4 separate regions of the Homo sapiens genome follow, and regions 2, 3 and 4 are each linked to region 1. The links are contacts of gene promoters, found by promoter capture Hi-C in blood cells and fetal thymus (Javierre and others, 2016). All regions are on one chromosome and are shown on one strand. The core of a region is centred on a gene start or on the middle of the fragment in contact, and the rest is flanking DNA. Distances in the headings are between cores, read along the strand shown. Region 1 holds the start of YAF2 (YY1 associated factor 2). Region 2 has its middle 12 kb from the start of TMEM117. Region 3 has its middle 120 kb from the start of LINC02461. Region 4 overlaps IRAK4 (interleukin 1 receptor associated kinase 4).

What was found. The method cuts DNA at HindIII sites, captures the fragments that hold promoters and counts their contacts. A CHiCAGO score of 5 or more calls a contact.
Region 2: a fragment that was not itself captured here is called in contact with the fragment with the promoter of YAF2 in region 1 in 1 of 17 cell types (non-activated CD4 T cells); the score reaches 6.7 in non-activated CD4 T cells.
Region 3: a contact is called between a fragment that was not itself captured here and the fragment with the promoter of YAF2 in region 1, in 1 of 17 cell types (total B cells). The highest score is 5.4, in total B cells.
Region 4: a contact is called between a fragment that was not itself captured here and the fragment with the promoter of YAF2 in region 1, in 1 of 17 cell types (total CD4 T cells). The highest score is 5.5, in total CD4 T cells.

The regions. Positions count from the first base shown.
Region 1 is chr12:42,236,585-42,239,531 of GRCh38, reverse strand. YAF2 (YY1 associated factor 2) reads left to right here and starts at 1,284. Exons shown (of 4, transcript NM_005748.6): 1 at 1,284-1,377; 2 at 1,808-1,933. The coding sequence starts at 1,352. It overlaps LOC124902920 (a long non-coding RNA gene), which reads right to left and starts at 1,087. Exons shown (of 2, transcript XR_007063279.1): 1 at 805-1,087; 2 at 254-395. RefSeq lists silencers at 539-678, 869-1,108, 1,159-1,538, 1,639-1,708, 1,829-2,158 and an enhancer at 1,492-1,993. The HindIII fragment of the contact is 7,822 bases long and covers 1-2,608 here.
Region 2 is chr12:43,823,092-43,825,791 of GRCh38, reverse strand. It overlaps a transcript of TMEM117 not described here. Among named protein-coding and RNA genes, the nearest start is that of TMEM117, 12 kb to the left of the region's middle. The HindIII fragment of the contact is 1,034 bases long and covers 933-1,966 here.
Region 3 is chr12:43,278,220-43,280,919 of GRCh38, reverse strand. No RefSeq gene overlaps it. Among named protein-coding and RNA genes, the nearest start is that of LINC02461, 120 kb to the right of the region's middle. The HindIII fragment of the contact is 751 bases long and covers 951-1,701 here.
Region 4 is chr12:43,770,777-43,773,673 of GRCh38, reverse strand. It overlaps IRAK4 (interleukin 1 receptor associated kinase 4), which reads right to left. Exons shown (of 12, transcript NM_016123.4): 3 at 2,309-2,454; 4 at 1,312-1,494; 5 at 602-762. Among named protein-coding and RNA genes, the nearest start is that of IRAK4, 13 kb to the right of the region's middle. The HindIII fragment of the contact is 1,292 bases long and covers 613-1,904 here.

The DNA of each region.
Region 1 (2,947 bases), core at 35-2,534:
TCGGACTTGATGTAAACCTAGAAAGATGGACAGAAACAGCACAGTTAAAGAGGGATATACTTTATGCAGAAGTAACCCATGTGCATGAAGGAAGGGTTCTGGTAAGGGAATGAATTTCATCTGCACTCTTTGTCAGGAGGCAGCTTTCCTTATGGGAGAGGGAGGCAGAGGTAGGGAAAATGTGTGAAGCCTTTGAATGCCAGGCTAAGGAGTGTGGGCAAGTCGTTAGTGGTTCTTTATCAGAGTGGTGGCATAGTATTAACAGCATTTTATTATTAATCTGGTTGTGGATTACTGAATACATTGGGGAGGTAGAAGTGGAGCTTCGGAGACCAGTTAGATGGCTGTTGCTGGAGTCTGGAGTATGAGGACCTTTAGTATGTTGACGTAGAGACCTGGGAAGGTGTTCTTTTGTTAGCAGACAGCGTTGAGGGGACATGCAAACTCCTTATATTTAAAAAGGACTTATGAGTATATAGGGGTTTCTTTCAAAAGCAGCTACTGCAGAGGCCTGAGAGGCCAAAAGGGCGCGTTTGGAATTAAAACAGAGTTAGACTCTTGGCTTTGTCATTTTCTAATTATATAGCCTAGAGGAAGTCACCTAATCTCTCTTGAGTCTTGATTTCAATTCCTCTAAGTTAGGGTTGACAATCCCTACTTGTTAGAGCATCTGTGTGCATAAACCAGACAGTGCTTTAAGGCATGTAGCAATGGCGCTGCGTGTTGGTTCCCGCCTTCCCCCCGGTATACTGCAGGCGGGGGCTGGGTAGCTAAGGACAGCGGAGGCCAGGAAAGTCGTTCTACCTGGAGATCCCGGGCTGGCACTTCTGTCCAGACCTGGACAGGCCTCCGAACGCCGGCCGGCCCTACCTTGGACCAGGCTTCGCACGGGATGACGGAGCATCCCCTGCCAGTCGGTGGGACAGACGTTTTCCTCCTCAGAGGGGCTCTGGAGCGCGAGGCAGTCCCCGGCAGCCGGGGGTACCAAGGGGGCAACGGGGGAACAGCGCGGAGAGGCGGCGCCGGCGCCCGAGGCAGCCGCGGCCACCGCGGCCACCCCCGCACCGCCCGCCGGCTAACTCGCCGCGGGTGCTGGGCCGCGCTGGCCGCGTTTGAAGTCTCCGGCGCGGCTGCTGGTTGGCCGGCGAGGGTCACGTGCGCCCAGGCAGGAGTTTCCCCGACAGCTGGAGGCTGCGTGGGATCCGGCGGCGGCTCCCGAGCGCGGCGGTGCGGCCTTCCCCGCCCCCTCCCTCCCTCCTCCCCCGCCCGCTTCCGCCCGGCTTATTATCCTCCTTATTGACAAACAGAGCGGTCGCGGCGGCGACTCTCGGCGTGCGGTGATAGCCAAGCCATGGGAGACAAGAAGAGCCCCACCAGGTAACAGCGCCCGGGCCCCGGGGCCCGGACTGTGCGGGCGGCAGGGCCCTCGTGCAGGGCTTCGGGTGGCCGCCTCGCTAGCCGCCCGGGCACCGGGGCGAGCACGGGGGCAGCGCCGCTGGTGTGCGAGTGCTGCCGCTTGAGGGGGCCGGCGCCGGCCGCCCCACAATGGAGCCGCGATGGCGGCGGCGACCGGAGCGGCCGCCCGGGTGTCAGAGCGGCTGTGGCGGCGGCGACTGCGGCCGCGCTCGCGCCCTGCCTCTTCCTGACTCCCTTCCCCCTCAGCCGGAGCGCGGCGCGCCGAGGGCCCGCGGGGCGGGGGTCGCAGAATTGGGGCGGGGGGCGGGGCGGGGGCGGCCGCGGGGCCCGGGCACCGGGCGCGGCCTGCTGGTGACCCCGCGCCGCGTCGTGTCCGGGTTGTGTCCTGCAGGCCGAAGCGGCAGCCGAAGCCGTCCTCGGATGAGGGTTACTGGGACTGTAGCGTCTGCACCTTCCGGAACAGCGCCGAGGCCTTCAAGTGCATGATGTGCGATGTGCGGAAGGGCACCTCCACCCGGTGAGTCCCGGGCCTGCCCCTCGCGCCGCCGGCCGGCGGGGTGGCGACCAGAGGACGCCCTTGCGGCTGCCGCCCCCTCCCATGACACTGGCGGACCCGGCGGGAGGAGGCAGACGGAGGTGGCTGTGGCGATAGGAACTGGGTCACATTGATCGCAACCCAGGCGATGGTTTGCGGTGAGGGGTAATTGAAGAGGCTGTAACGTTTTTTGCTGCCAAGAGAGAATAAATTATTTAAGGGAGGCATTAGCTACTGCGATTTAATTCGTATCGCTGGGTGTAATGCCCCTCTCCCCATTCTGGGTATAAAAATGTTGGCTGCATTGTTGTGTTAGTGTGTGGGGATCAAGGAAAACCCATAAAATCTCTTTAGGAGCAAAGGATGTAATTTAATTTCGTTCCTAAAGAAAGAAAAGTATCTGATTGCAGAATACACAATATATTAAAACTTATTTTTCTACATGTACTTCTGGAAGGGTCAGATCAAGGTTTTATTTAGTGTTTTTATTCCAGTACTCTAATATTTTATAAATAAGTAGTTGGAGATGAGCCCAGTCACAGGAACAGATTTTTACTGAAAGTACCTTTATATCTTTAGTTTGATTAAATGGCAGTCTCTTAGACAAATGAGATGAAAAGATCTCTGCCTATTTTCAGACTTTATTTATTGTAAGCTTGCAGTATAATAACTCTGTCTTTTAAAAAATGACTTTGAATTAAGTGAATAAAGAAAATCATCCAGGAAATTCAGTCAGTGGCATTCTTAATCTGTCAGCACTTAGTTATCGAGCTCCTTGATTCTTATACGAAGGTACCCTTTGAATTAAATATAATCCTGTGATTTATTACTTAATATTTAGAGAAGATATGTATTTTGATATTACAAAGTCCATTAGAAACTAAACTATAACAATAAGCATACTAATCTTACTGTTGCTTTAAAAAAGAAGGCACATGTAATATTGACATATACAAATATTCAGTAGACGTTAGATTTCTAAAAAATGAGATCTTG
Region 2 (2,700 bases), core at 200-2,699, 1.6 Mb before region 1:
CCTACCTACTAAACCAGAATCTCTTGAGGTGGAGTTTCATAATCTTCATTGTAATAACTTCCTAAATAACTCTTATGCACATTTAATTCAGAGAAACACATAGAAAGGGAATTATTCATGTTACTGCTCTTCCTATATTTGAATAGTATAATATTTAATAATAATATAATCACATAATATTTAATAATAAATACAATCACGTTCTTTATGTCAAAGGGAGTATTCTGGTCATTGGATTTGCCAACCAAACACAGACAGATGCATCTGTGATTTATTCATTCACATGAAGATAAAATCACCTGAGGAGAATAGAGAGAATGAGGAGAGAAGGTAGCCAGGAAAGGCTTATGGATAGGGCCCTGTGGTGCCTAGAATCCAGTCACTTCATACCACCTTTTAAGTGAGTAGGGATCAACCCCTGCTGCATATTGGGATAATCCAGCGCTTGGGGTCCACCCAGCCAAACTAATGAAATCAATATTCCTTAAAAGCAGGTAGGCCAGCCCCCTTCCCTCCATAGTTCCAAATAGCTGCTTCTACGCCAACCCTTGTAAACTAGTGGCAATTTTTCCTGTGGATTATTTTCTTTGATCCTCATACTACTTTAAAACTTCAGCTGAGTTGCAAATATTTAAAAACCAGTAGATTTCACTTTAAACAAAAACAGAATGTTTAGCTTCTCATGAAAACCAAAAGAACTGACCTTACAGGGTCTACATTCTTGAATGGCATACAGTTGCCGAACAAGGTCTTCAGTCATTTAAGTTCCCCACCTGGTTGCCTGGCCTCTGAAGGCATTTGGGGACTATAGTGCACCCTACCACAGGGTTTTCTTTTTGTTTTGTTTTGTTTTGTTTTGAGACGGAGTCTCGCTCTGTCGCCCAGGCTGGGGTGCTGGAGTGTAGTGGCACAATCTTGGCTTACTGCAAGCTTCGCCTCCCGGGTTCACACCATTCTGCCTCAGCCTCCCCAGTAGCTGGGACTACAGGCACCCGCCACCATGCCCGGCTAATTTTTTATATTTTTAGTAGAGACAGAGTTTCACTGTGTTAGCCAAGGTGGTCTCCTGACCTCATGATCCGCCTGCCTCGGCCTCCCAAAGTGCTAGGATTACAGTCGTGAGCCACTGCGCCCGGCCCTACAGGGCTTTCTTAGCTCAGCAGCTGCCTTCCTGCATCCAAGGCCCCACGCTAGCCTCTCCTGTCACAGATCTCAAGGTTTCCCTGAGCAAGCATGACAATGGTTTGGGAAAATCACATGAAACAGGCTCCACCTTATCTGCTGGTTTTATCCTCTCCTAGAGCCCATTTCCTGGAGCCATAGTTGCCAAAGTCTCATGTCCTCTTGAGAGAACTAGAGCTGCTACCCTGGAAGCGGCACTCACCTCAGGCCAAGTGAAGTCTGACACCAAAACTGATACTTCTGCATTCTACCAATAGGGATAGATTCCCTCCTAATCACAAATTAGCTGGACACCTGGGTCTCCCAGAATGAATCCTGGCAAGTCCCTCAAGCCTTAGTGAAATCACTCTTCTTCAGGAGAAAGCAATGCCACCTCGTTTGACCAGAGAGCCTCCCTAGGACTGTGGAAGGCTGGATTCTGTATTAGAATTCGATAGACATGCTTGGTGAGAGAAATTCAAGAAAATTGCCCCTCCTTCAAGTAATGAACTTTCTCAAGTCTCTTTTGTTTAATTACATCACAATATTAGCTAATGGATTAGCTAACTAATTAGCTAATTAATTATTTTTTAAAATATCAATGCTAGACAGCTGAAATTTTTATTGTTTTCCTGCTGTGAGAATGTATATGTATACTAATGTAAGTAATTTGTCAAACTATTGTTAAAACTATTAAGCTGGCACAAATGTTTCTTATCTACAGTAAAAAGGAAAACAATAGGAAATTAGCATTTGAACTGGTATGGAAAGTACTTCAATTTAATCACTATCAGCACACAAAGCTTTTTTTTTTTAAATTACACTCATGGCCAGTGCAGTGGCTCATGCCTAGCACTTTGGGAGGCTGAGGTGGGTGGATCACGAGGTCAACAGATCGAGACCATCCTGGCCAACATGGTGAAACCCCGTCTCTACTAAAAATACAAAAATTAGCTGGGTGTGGTGGCGCGTGCCTGTAGTCCCAGCTACTTGGGAGCCTGAGGCAGAAGAGCCTGAGGCTTGAACCTGGGAGGCGGAAGTTGCAGTGAGCCAAGATCACGCCACTGTGCTCCAGCCTGGAGACAGAGTGGAACTCTGTCTCAAAAAAATAAATAAATAAAGAAATAAAAATGAAATTACACTCACACAAATTTGTTCTCTCTACTGTGAGATTGTTTTCAGCCTCACCAAAAAATGTAGTTATCCTTTTCTTGATCATCTCATCGTTTAGCCTCAATAAATGTATAGTATAATGGAAAGGAGGTAGATTTTTGGAGTTAGGCCTGGGTTCAAATTCTACTTTGCTACCTTTTCTATCTGTGAACTTGGCCAAGTTGTTTAACCTCTCTGAGACACATACCCATATCTAACATTTTTGGCTAATAACATAAAATGTATGGACTGCAGTGAGGATTAAATGAAATAGTATAAGTAAACACATCCTGGCACATCTCCTATTACCTTCTTAATACATCAAGTTTCATTCCAGTGGATAGTAGGCCTAATAAATGTCCTCAAATTTTTATAATAAAATTTCTG
Region 3 (2,700 bases), core at 77-2,576, 1.0 Mb before region 1:
ACACAGAGTCAAGAAAAAAAGAGATCTCAAGCAGATTTAAAGTAGAATCTCCAGGGCACTGTCTGTGGCAGATATTCTCAAATTTTTGGTCTCAGAACCCCTTTATACCCTTAAAAATTATGGACCCGAAAGAGTTTAAGTGAGTTATATCTAGTTACAATTATCATATTAAAAGTTAAAACTGAAATATATAAATTAATTCATTTAAAAATAACACTAATAACCATTTTCTTATGAAAAGGAACTACCGTCTTCCAAAAGTTAGTTATAAAAGTAGAATTGTTTGACAGTTTTGAACATCTTTTAAAGGTCTGGCTTCACGGAAGTTAGCTAGATTGGCAAATCTGTTGTGATTTGTTGCTTCAGTTGAAGTATATGAAAAAATCTGGTCTCATACACATATATAGTTGCAAAAGGGAAGAGTATTTGAATAGCCATTTTAGTAGTTGTGAATATTCATCTTTTACGTTACATCAAAATTCAAAAAGTGATAGTTTCTTAAAGATTAGTTGCAATATGAAATCTAAAATCATATTCATGAATGCTTTATAGCAGGGGTCCCCAACCTCTGTGGCTGGTCCGTGGTCTGTTAGGAACCGGGCTGCACAGCAGGAGTTGAGCAGCAGGTGAGCGGGTAAAGCTTCATCTGTATTTATTATATTTCTTTATTTCAGACAGAGTTTCATTTTTTGTGCCTAGGCTGGAGTGCAACGGCACGGTCTCTGCTCACTGCAACCTCCGCCTCCCAGGTTCAAGCAATTCTCCTGCCTCAGCCTCCCAAGTAGCTGGGATTACAGGCACCTGCCACCATGCCAGGCTAATTTTTGTATTTTTAGTAGAGACGGGGTTTCGCCTTGTTGCCCAGCTGGTCTCGAACTCCTGACCTAAGGTGATCTGCCTGCTTCAGCTTCCCAAAGTGTTGGGATTACAGGCGTGAGCCACTGAAAGCTTCATCTGTATTTACAGCCACTACCTCCATTGCTTGCATTACTGCCTGAGCTCTGCCTCTTGTCAGATAAGTGCAGCATTAGATTCTCACTGGAGCACAAACCCTGTTCTGAACTGTACCTGTGAAGGATCTAGGTTTCATGCTTATCATGAGAATCTAATGCCTGATGATCTGAGGTGGAACAGTTTCATCCTAAAGCCATCTCCGCCTACCCCCTGGTCCATGGAGAAATTGTTTTCCATGAAACTGGTCCCTGGTGCCAAAAAGTTTGGGGACTACTGCTTTATAGTCTGTCTAGTTCTGTACATTGGCCTATCTTGCACCTTTAGTGGATTTTTATCTATGCATGATTTTTGTAACATCATGATTTGTTATTTGGAATATATTGGTTCACTCTTTTACATGGTTCTTCCAAATGTACAGTGAAAAATGCCACTGTACACTTACGAGAGAATGAGCTTTTACACACAAATAATGTACTAGCATTATGCCAAAATTATTTGACTCACAGACTCTGTGAAAGTGTCTCAAAGACCCACAGGGACCCATGCTACTAGAGAGCAGCTGCTCTATGGCATCATCATGGCCTTTTTTCTCGACACTATTTAATAAACACTGTTTAAACTCTCTATTGCCCCTTCTACTCTCACAAGTACCTTCATATCACCACTTTGACCTTCTTTTGATTTACCATATACAGGTATTTCTCATTTCAGAAACTTTGTTACTTCTACTTGACTTCTAATAAAGCTTTAGTTTAGATGCTCCTTTTCCCAAGAATCCTACTCTGACTTTCCTTAATTTGGGTTAGGTATCTTGTCTTAGATATTACTCAAATTAATAACTTTTTTTTTTTGAGACGGAGTCTCACTCTGTCGCCCAGGCTGGAGTGCAGTGGTGTGATCTCGGCTCATTGCAACCTCGCCTCCCGGGTTCAAGAAATTCTCCTGCTTCAGCCTCCTGAGTAGCTGGGATTACAGGTGCCCGCCACCACGCCTAGCTAATTTTTGTATTTTTATTAGAGACGGGGTTTCACCATGTTGGTCAGGCTGGTCTCGAACCCCTGACCTTGTGATCCACCCGCCTCGGCCTCCCAAAGTGCTGGGATTACAGGCGTGAACCACCGTGCCCAGCCCTCAAATTAATAACTTATTTATTTGAAATTTCTAAGTAGATTAAAACCTTTAGGGACAAGAACCATAACCATCTCAAAAAGTATTTGACAGATACTATATTCTTCATAAATCTTTTTTTTCATTGTAACAAATATTTCAAAATAATGATATGGAACTGCAGGTAATGAGATGGGTTTCTACTGCATTAAATTCGATTTTTATCGGTCTATATTTGCAGTATTGAAGTAACTCAAGCCTGTTACGTGGAATTTTATCTTTGTAGGCAAAAATAAACTTTCTGCTAAAACTTTCCATTCTTCAAGGGACAGTTCAGGTTTCACTTCCTCTAAAACAACAATAAGTGTTTCTGATCACCTCTGTCTAACAACTATCGCTCATTCTTTTAAACATATGTAGCCCTAAAGTATTCTTATACTGCTCATTTGGCAACTTGCCACGTGTTCTTTATCTTGGAGTGCTGGTTACTTTGGGTCCATGTTTTCCCCACAAGTTCTGAGCTTCTCAAGAGTAGTGACCATGTCCTCTTTACTTTTGGAGCCTCCCTATACATTTCACATTTTCTTGGTACACAGCAGATGTTTAGTAATTGATTTTGATTTATTGGCTTTTTTTGTC
Region 4 (2,897 bases), core at 9-2,508, 1.5 Mb before region 1:
CATAAGCAATTTAGGTGCAAAATGGAAAAAAAAACCCTACAAAAGCCCTGCAACATATATGACAAAGAGTGACTATCTTTATCACATACATATGCATTCTATTGATATTTTTAGGCTCTAACAAAAGATTTAGAATATAACAAGTAAGTAAAAGGTAAACACCTCAGTAGAAATGGCAACAAAGGACACAGATAAAAAAAATTTTAATGTTTTTTCTTAATGTATACTTCCTAAATTTTATTTTTAAATGGGAAAAGTAATGCAAACAAGGTTTTTTAAAAATAGTTTTCCTGGTATCTTACCATTTTAATCTTGATTACACATGAAGCACTATGTGGAGCAGGGCTTCTCAACTTTAGTTTGTGAATCTCCCAAAATTGTATGTATGATCTTGTGTACATGGACATAACCACATTTTTCTAGGGGTAGGGTCCATAGTGTTCAACAGATTTTAAAATTTTAAGAACTACTATTTAGAATGATGTTTATTTAAAGAAAATACATACTGAAATAATGTATTTCCTAAAGATTAACTTTAAAACCTATTATAGGGCACACTATGAAGCAACTCTTTCTTTTTATTCCTGAAAATATAACTTACTGCTGCAAGCTTCTTCACTGCCACAGTTGTGTTATTTACGTAGCCTTTATATACAACTCCAAATCCTCCCTCTCCCATTTTATTACCACCAACAGAAATGGGTCGTTCATCAAAGTTATTTGTGACATTCTTCAATTCATAAAATGAAAAACTGTGAAAACCTATGTCAAAATAAGAAAAACATGCTTAAATTTTAAAAATTCGTTTTAATAATTATAATATTTTCTCATTTGAAGATTTCACATATATGCAAATATTTATGATTTTGAATTAGACAAGATGAGAGAAGATAAAACCATTTCTAAAATACAAATTATAAGTTTTTCTTGAGAACTCTGTTTGGTGATCCTACCCTCTGAACACTGTAGTCACCCACCCAAAATTCTAGTCACACATTTGAGTGGGTCTAGTCTACCTACCCAAAACTCTAGTCACATATTTTATTTTAAAAAGTGACCTTTCCAAGTTATGTAAATATTTACTTATTTTTTTTCATAGCTTCTCTGGTTGTTTGCATGTCCTATTGCCTCTAATCACTGATTAATACAATGAAGATGGTTCTTAATATATCAGGAGGAAACAACTCACAAAAGAGCTATTGCCAGTGTGCCTGTGATTGCTGCACAAACAAAAGAGCAAGAGCTTTCTTTTAAAGCACTGGTAGTCTTAATGACAAATCCCTAGTGGAAAGCACTGAAAATGTTACTTACGTGTATCACTAACTTCTAAACTTTTATTTTCTGGACTTGAGGAGTCAGGTGGCATATAGCTTTGTTCAAGATTCTGCACAGGTGTCATCAATGTCCTGTCTTTGTCACAGAAAGGCATCTGTTTTTGCTGAACTGTTATAGCTTCTTTAGAAGGTAGTGTATTAGCAGTTTTGGGAACAGCATCTAACAAATGAAGTAAGATACAAGTGGTTTTTCAGTAAGAAAAAGTGGTTGTGAAAAAGTTAAACTAGAAACTTGGTTCATTTAATATCATTCCAGTTTCTACAGGTTGGTCTCATATTCTCACAGCACACACAAGAAGCTGCCTAGTAAGAATCTGTAAGTTATAATGAAGATGGGTAAAGAGAGTAAGGCAGTGTTTTCAAACAGTGATCCATGAGCCACCTATATCAGAGGCACTGAAGCACCTGTTTAAGAATATAGACCTTAAACCCAATTCCAGAATTCTGATTACATAGATTTGGAACAGACCCTAGGAAACTACATGTTTAACCAGAACCTAAGTGATTCTTATGCATGATAAAGGTTGAGAACCACTGGTGTGAAAGGCATCAAAGGAAAAAAAGAAAGCTTATAAGGAAGGCAACTAGACACTACCACATCAGAATACAATTTTTTAAAATTATGATTATAGAGTCCCATCAGGGTAGAAGTTGAAGATGAAAAAAAGGAAGAACTCAAAATTATAATTACTTTCTTACAGCCTAAGCCAGAAGTATGAAGTCTTTCCTTCTAAACTTCCTGTTGGCACAAAACTATCTAACTCTTACGAAGCTTCTATCACCTTAGCAGCAGAGTCCACAGTGTCCTTTGTCTGTGCTGCTTTTTAAAGAGTTGAGGAGTGCTGAAAGAAAGGGACTCTCAAATGTAAGCTTCATCTACTATGAGAAAAAAGGAAGAGTAAGAAGAAACATTTATATTTCTGCCATTTGTCTTTCCACCCTAATTGTGGACACCCTGGTCACAATCAGTTTACCTGGGAGCAAAAGACTCGCAGGAGCAAAAAATTCATTTTGGATCAAAAGATCCACAAGATCACCAACTGTGCAATTTGTGGTGCCCCAGTCAAACAGTAATTCAGAAGTGGGACTTTTTCCAGTTTGAAGTAATGCTTCAAATCTCCTTAAAAGTAAGTAACAAAGAAACAAAATTAGTCTATTGTCTTAGTCCATTTTGTGCTGCAATAATAGAATACCACAGACAGGGTAATTTATAAATAATAGTTAATTTGGCTCACGGTTCTGGAGGCTGGGAAGTCCAAGATCGAGAGGCTGCATCTGGTTAGGGCCTTCTTGCTACATCATCTCATGGTGGAAGGGCAGAAGGGCAAAAGAGCATGCACACGTGCATGTGAAAGAGAAAAAAAAAGAGAGAGAGAGAAAAAGAAAAATAGGGCCTAACTTATCCTTTTATCAGAAACCCACTCCCTAGATAACTAACCCACTCCTGCCATGACGACATTAATCCACTCATAAGGGCAAAGCTCTCATGGCCTAACTACCCTTTAAAGGTCCCACCTATCAACCCTGTTGCAATGGGTATTAAGTTTCTAACACATGAACTTT